2 separate regions of the Homo sapiens genome follow, and region 2 is linked to region 1. Evidence: promoter capture Hi-C in 16 types of primary human blood cells and fetal thymus (Javierre and others, 2016). All regions are on one chromosome and are shown on one strand. The core of a region is centred on a gene start or on the middle of the fragment in contact, and the rest is flanking DNA. Distances in the headings are between cores, read along the strand shown. Region 1 holds the start of DMRTB1 (DMRT like family B with proline rich C-terminal 1). Region 2 overlaps GLIS1 (GLIS family zinc finger 1).

Region 1 (3,470 bases), core at 341-2,840:
GAAAATCAAGGTGGACACCAGGCGTGGGCTTCTCCCATTCTACCAACAGAAAGAGAGAAATTCAAAGAAAGAGCAATGAAAAATGCACAAGTTTTAGCCACATATTAACTGTAACTACCTCCTTAAATGCGACTGATCTAATTAGAAGCTTTTCAGCTTGTTAGTGGCCCATTTTTTCCTTTTTTTGGACAAAGAAGGGAGGAGAGGGGAGGGGAGGGAAATGGAGGCAGTGGGGTGGTGGGGGGGAGGGGCGGGAGAGAGAGACAGAGAGAGAGAGAGAGAGAGAGAGAGAGAGAGAGAGATGCCTCAGGGTGTCACAAATTTGTTTTTAAAAAATGAATTAATGGCCGGACGCGGTGGCTCACGCCCGTAATCCCAGCACATTGGGAGGCCGAGGCCGGTGGATCACCTGAGATCGGGAGTTCAAGACCAGCCTGGCCAACATGGCGAAAACCCCGTCTCTACTAAAAATACAAAAATTAGCTGGGCATGGTGGCGGGCGCCTGTAATCCAAGCTACTCAGGAGGCTGAGGCAGGAGAATCGCTTGAACCTGGGAGGCGGAGGTTGCAGTGAGCCAAGATCCTGCCACTGCACTACAGCCTGGGTGACAAAGCAAGACTCTGTCTCAAAAAAAAAAAAAAAAACAAAAAAAAACAATTAATGCCCTCGGGTAAACTATGACGTTTGTGCTAACTTTTCAGATGTCCCAAGATTTGGGTTGTTTTACAAGGATAACGAAGTTCATGATGAGGTTAAGCAATCACTGAAGCTAGTGCTAGAAATTTTTTTTAATTTAATTTTTTAGAAAGAGGGGTCTTGCAGAATTTTTTATTTAATTTTTTAGAAAGAGGAGTCTCGCTATGTTGCTCAGGTTGGTCTCCAACTACTGGGCTCAAGTGATCCTCACGAGTAGCTAGGGCTACAGGCACAGGACACTATGCCAGGCTTAGTGCTACAATATTCTGTCTATTTTACTTTAAAATATTCTAAGTATGCTCACTTTGGAAGGCATCAACATCCAGAAATGCATTCCTACATCAAGACTCTCAAGAAACGGGAATTACTGTAAGGGCATACCCTTGAGCAACCATCACACTGCACTGAACTCTTGAGAATATTCTGGAATATCCTGGAAGCATCTCTGCAGGGCAGAGAAGTGAACTGCCACAGAAGGAGCAGCTTTGGGGAGAAGAAATACAGTTTGCCTCTTACAGTATTTTTCTACACCGAGAGCTACATTCCTCCCGAGTTTTAAATTTGTGGACCGTTGAATATCACTCCGCCTTTCATAAAGTTACAAATACCTTCCGTCGGTGGCGGGAACAGAGTTTGGAAAATTACATGCCTAAGACTTCAGATAAGCTAAATGACATACATGCAATAGCATCCCATGAAGAATTTATTCAACCCAATCCATTGCATCTAATTACCCAAAGCACAGAAACTCTCCAAACTGTGCACCCCCCAAAAGGAGGGAAAATGCAAGGTTCCTGCTGCAGTTCCCGGGACACACTGCGAGCCGCTTTGTTACAAGTGTATCCAATGTCCCCAGAACGAGGGACTTGTGGGGCGCGGCTCATCCCAGCGCCACTTGCTCTGCAGCTCCCAGAGGTGGTGGTTGTGTTACGAAGGCTGACCCTGCCAATGGCCGACAAAATGGTGCGCACCCCCAAGTGCTCGAGATGCAGGAACCATGGCTTCCTGGTGCCCGTCAAGGGACACGCGGGCAAATGCCGCTGGAAGCAGTGCCTCTGCGAGAAGTGCTACCTGATCTCCGAGCGCCAGAAGATCATGGCCGCGCAGAAGGTGCTCAAGACGCAGGCCGCCGAGGAGGAGCAGGAGGCGGCCCTGTGTGCGCAGGGGCCCAAGCAGGCCTCCGGGGCTGCGGCCGCCGCCCCCGCCCCCGTCCCCGTCCCGGCCGCGAGCCTCCGCCCGCTGTCCCCGGGGACTCCCTCCGGAGACGCCGACCCGGGACCCGAGGGCCGCGCGGCCGCTTGCTTCTTCGAGCAGCCCCCGCGGGGCCGGAACCCCGGCCCGAGAGCCCTCCAGCCGGTTCTGGGCGGCCGCAGCCACGTGGAGCCGAGCGAGCGAGCCGCCGTGGCGATGCCCAGCCTTGCGGGACCCCCTTTTGGGGCGGAGGCCGCAGGCAGTGGCTACCCTGGCCCCCTAGACCTGCGCAGGCCGATGCGGACCGTGCCCGGCCCACTGTTCACCGACTTTGGTAAGTCGTGGCCTTGGTCCCGCGGTCGACTCCCGGAGCTGGCAGCCCAGGCCAGCCCGGATGGGGAGCTGGCATAGGGGTTCGGGGTGGAGAGAAGTTTTTCCACGGGTAACGGACCTTCCGCTTTGAGAAACCCTTCTTCGAACAGGGATTTGGATTGGGTAACTTTTCGCAAAAAGGAAACGAGAAACAGAAAGGAATGGGCGGTTCAGAGGGCTTTTAACATTTAGCTGTAGTTTGTGCCATTCCGGCATGCAAGAACAAAATGGCGTCCAGTCGACTTAGCAGTGCTTCCTCCTCCGGGGGAGGCTTCGAGGAGCCGAGTCCTACTGCTCTTGCGCACCTCTTCCCGCCATTTCCTTGGGCTGGAGGCTCCTCCTCCAGAATAACAGAATTTTCCTGCCGGCACGTTAGCGCAAGGACGCCTGCGCACTCTTCCCTCCCGGTTCGCGGTCGGGAGGCTCCTCCCCTCAGCTCCGCCCTGGCCCAGTGCGCCTGCGCACCTCTTCCCTCCGTTTCCCCACGTGCAGGTGAGGGGAGCCTGCTTCTTTACTCCACACACGAGAACAGTTGGTCAGTAAAGATGTTGCCTTTCTTTTCTCCCTTCACCTTGTACATAAATTACATTGTTCCCTGTGCCTTGGAGCTTTTGGTATTGAAGTAGTTTCAAGTCACATGTACATTTGAAGCTTTAGAAGCCCCGGGGTTTGGTGCGGACGCGTTTTCCTGGTGTCTCCCCCGTGGTGGTGTGGTGGGACGGGCTCAGGCCGAGGCGGGGGCCCGGGTCACGCTGGACAAGCTCCTGCCCTCTGTGTGCCAGGGCACTGGTCCGGAGGCTCCCGCAGGCTCGTCCCGCCCCCCTGACTTTCCAGGAAAATCTAGGTCCCCAGGGAACGTCCCATCTGACAGGGTCACAGGCCTGAAACTGCAGATCTAGGAGAAGCCACCTTTCTTTTTTCCATCTCAACAGACAAGCAGGGCTGAGCCGAACCATGAGCCAGGCATTCGTGATGGAGGACGCGGGTCACATTTCTTGCCCTCAAGGACCTTGTCCTTGTGGGAGGGACAGGGTTGATCAAAGAGTCACACAAATCAGTGTCCAGGGCTTGAGCCATGGCCGGGTTCACTGTGACCCGGAGGAGGAGGAGGAGCTCGGCACTGAGGCCTCAGAGAGGCAGAGTGCGGGCTGACGGTGTGTGGGGCAGCGGGGAGGTCTGGAGGCGGCCCCGGCCCACAGCGGGCTTGATG
Region 2 (3,518 bases), core at 672-3,171, 230 kb after region 1:
CCCAGCCCTGCTCATCTCATCATCCCCCCTCCCACCACCACATGAGACACACATAAACCTAAATCCATGTTCCTCAAAGTCTGGCCTTTTGCCTGTTGCCCTCAGAATCCTGGGCCCACTCTGGACTCCATGAGCAGAATCACTGGAGATGATGAGGACCCCGGGCCCAGGATCCCAGATTCACACGGACTGGGAGGAGCTGAGCCCCCTGCTGCTCCATGCTCTCCCACGTCCATGAGCTCCTCCACCACTGCTCCTCCTCCATTCCCTCTCCCTCTCCCAACAACCGCCTCGCCTGGAGCTTCCACACCTTTTCCACCAGCCACTCCCTGCAGCCACTCAGCCAGCATCAAATCATACACTGGCCGAGCTTCGGATTTGCTAATAAAGGGTCCTTCATTTCTGCACAGCTCCACCTTACTGAATTTGCAGTTTCTCTAAATGGCCTCTATATTCCTTTCATGGCCAATCCTGACCTCCCTCCTACCCCCACTCCAACCCAGGGTCACACCCACCCAGCATTACCAGGTTCCACAGTTAAACCAACTCCGCCCCAGTGACTGTGTCTCTGAAAGCATAGAGAGATGTATATTACCATTACTCTAGTCCCACCATGGCAGCAGCAAGGCCCATATGGACAGGAGTCGTGGAGGAGCGGGGAGTTCCACACCTATAATCTAACCTGGAGACAGTGTCTGGCAATTTCACACCCAGCCTGCAGCCCACTCTGCAGTTCTCCCTATCTCTATTAAATACCTGACCCCTCAAACTGCCTCCCTTTTTCCTAACACAAGCTTTCTTTTCCTTCTCATCCAACCTCTCTTTTTCCCCACCTAAAGAGGGAAGGGTTTGAAAAGCTATTTCTAAAACTACTATAGAACAATAAAGCCCCTTTGAACGAAGCACACCACGTAATGAGGCTTAAACTCACTGCCAGATTCAGCATCCTGGAGCTCAACCCTATGTCATATCCTTGCTCAAAATCCCTCCATGGCTCCCCACTGCCTGAAGAGTAAAAGGACTCAACACAACCATAAAATAGCAATGGTATCCAATGTACTTGAGATGTGCATGGAAAGAATGTGGTAATAACCTGAAGGACGTAACGATAACAATAAACATAGCTAGCAATTATTGAGCACTTACTGTGTGCTTTACACACATTAATGTGTTACCCTACAGGGTTACAGTAACCTTCACCCAGCCTTGCCTGGTGGGTGCCACTATTGTCCCTGATTTAGAGTTTGGGGTTGTGCTGAGAAATGGAGCTTCCAGCAGCCCCATTTCTCAGCCACTGTGGGTGTAGCTGGGGGAGGGATACTGAGGGTGTGGGCTCTAGCCTGAGTGGAAGTGGGGGACCCTGACCCAGGTGGGGGTGAGTTTTTGGAGGGCTTGGCTAGAAGTTGGCTGTGAAGAAGGGAAGTTGGGGAAACCCAGGCCATCCTAGCTCGGGCCTGCTTTCTCCCCACTGGGCTGGAACCCCACGCTTGCCCAAGGTCCCTGCAGGCCCAGTTCTCTGGATGGTAGGCACCGCCACCCTAAGCAAACCCCAAAGTCTTTGAGAAACCCACTCAATCTTCACTGGCTGGACTGGCCTCTCTGTCAATGGACTCCCAGGGGCCCATCCCATCCCAGGAAGCACCTCCAGAGCCCTTTTCTATCCCTCTACATCCATGTCCATCTTTTCTGAAGGAAGGTATGTCCCTCACAGGTGCACAGCACTTCACAGTGTGAGGGTGCTTCGTCGAGACCTCGTATCAACCCAGACAGAGAAGCAGGGCAAAGTACATTCCACTCTGCAGACAAGGAAATCATCGTGGCTCCATATGTTACACGCACTGTTTCATAATTTAATCCTCCCTACAGCCCCTTCTGAGACTATTATCCCACTTTACAGATGAGGAAACTGACGCAGAGAAGGGCTGTAACTTGCCATGGCCCCATGTCAAGTCAGTGGCAGGACTTGAACCCAGGTCTCCCTGGGGGCATTCAGTCTCTGGAGGCCACCAATATGGCCAACTTAACCTCAGAAGATCCATCTTCCCTGCTGCTGACCATCCCAAACCTTCTGGACACCCAGCCCTCGGGGGCAGGCATCTGGCCAACCACTTGAGATGGTTCTCAGCAGCCCCTGTGGCCAGAGGCCAGAACTGCTAAGTCTGGCTCTGGCATGCTCCCCCAGCCACCACATCCCATCCTGGTCCCACAGCACCCCAGCCAGAGCTGCCCCCACAGCCCAGCCTCTCACCCCCGCCCACAGATCCAAATTTCCATTCCCTCAGCAGCATGAGCTCAGTGGGGAGGAAGGCAATCTGATTACAAGCAGTCCCGGCCTCGGGGTCGCCAAGGGTGTGGGCATCATAAAGCAGGCGCTCTGGCGGCACTGAAGAGGGGAGGGGATGGTGCAGGAAGCCCGGGATGTCGAGGCCGGGCTCTGTTACCACCGCACTGGGTGGCCTCCTGAGCCTCAGTGCCCCCACCTGGAAAGCGTGCCTTTTCATCGATCGCTGCCTTACCTAACCCTCCAGATGGCTGTGCCGCTCAAAGTGACCTTGATGAGAAGATGCTTTGGGAAACAGGAAACATGACGCAGACATGAGGAGGCTGTGTCATCACCGTCACTCTGAACCAGCTTTCCCTGAGCGCCTGCCTGGGCCAGGCCTGACGGTGGGCACTGGGCTCACGAAGAGGAGGAAACAGTCCCGGCCCCTGCAGTCTACTGCCTGGTAGGGGAGACAGGCAACAGGCGGCCACCACACAGGTGCCCAGTGCTGCATGGAGGGACACTCTAGGGACTGCAGGGACCCAAAGAAGGGGCTCTGGCCCAATCTGGGGTCAGGGCAGGTCTAGGATGGCCCTGAATGAGTTTGAAAGACCAATGGGAGTTGGCCAAATGGAGGGGGTGGGCCCTCTAGGTGAGAAACGGCAGGGGCGCTGGGGGAGGGGTGACAAGGAGAGAAGACATCAGCAAAGCACACAGCACACCGTAGGTGCTCAGAACGCGGTTGTTCTCTTCCCCTCCCCATACCTCACCCTGTGGACTCAAGTCCAAGCTTATACCTCCTCACTCCCTTTCTGCGAGCCGGCTGGCCCTGCCAGGGACCCTTTCTGCCTTCTCTTCTCAATGGGCTGCACCCAGTGTCCCTGCTGGCCCAGGAAAGCCCTGCTGACCTGACCTTCTGGGTACCAAGCTGGGCCCAGCCCATGAATTAAGCTCATGCAGAGGGGGCCCTGCTGAGGCGGCAGCACCACCCAGGAAGAAAGCCCAAGCTGGGCAGACACCGCTGGGGTCCCAGCTCCACCTCCTACAGGCTGTGTGGCCTTGGGCAGGCTGCTCAAGGGCTCGGACCTGGGACTTGGGGTAGAAGGAGTTATTACAGACTGGGCTACGTGGGGCACACAGCACAGTCCTGCACACACACTAGCAGGAGCTAAATTCTCACTATCATAGTAAATTAACGCTGCCTCAAAAAATCCAGGCTGTAGGGTCACTTGGTAAGCATGAAATGTTGCACAGG

Evidence for each region. The method cuts DNA at HindIII sites, captures the fragments that hold promoters and counts their contacts. A CHiCAGO score of 5 or more calls a contact.
Region 2: a fragment that was not itself captured here is called in contact with the fragment with the promoter of DMRTB1 in region 1 in 7 of 17 cell types (fetal thymus, endothelial precursors, M1 macrophages and 4 more); the score reaches 9.3 in fetal thymus.

What each region holds. Positions count from the first base shown.
Region 1 is chr1:53,457,809-53,461,278 of GRCh38, forward strand. It overlaps DMRTB1 (DMRT like family B with proline rich C-terminal 1), which reads left to right and starts at 1,591. Exons shown (of 4, transcript NM_033067.3): 1 at 1,591-2,222. The coding sequence starts at 1,646. The HindIII fragment of the contact is 2,763 bases long and covers 147-2,909 here.
Region 2 is chr1:53,691,322-53,694,839 of GRCh38, forward strand. All of the region lies in intron 2 of GLIS1 (GLIS family zinc finger 1), which reads right to left. Among named protein-coding and RNA genes, the nearest start is that of GLIS1, 46 kb to the right of the region's middle. RefSeq lists an enhancer at 2,653-3,279. The HindIII fragment of the contact is 2,259 bases long and covers 793-3,051 here.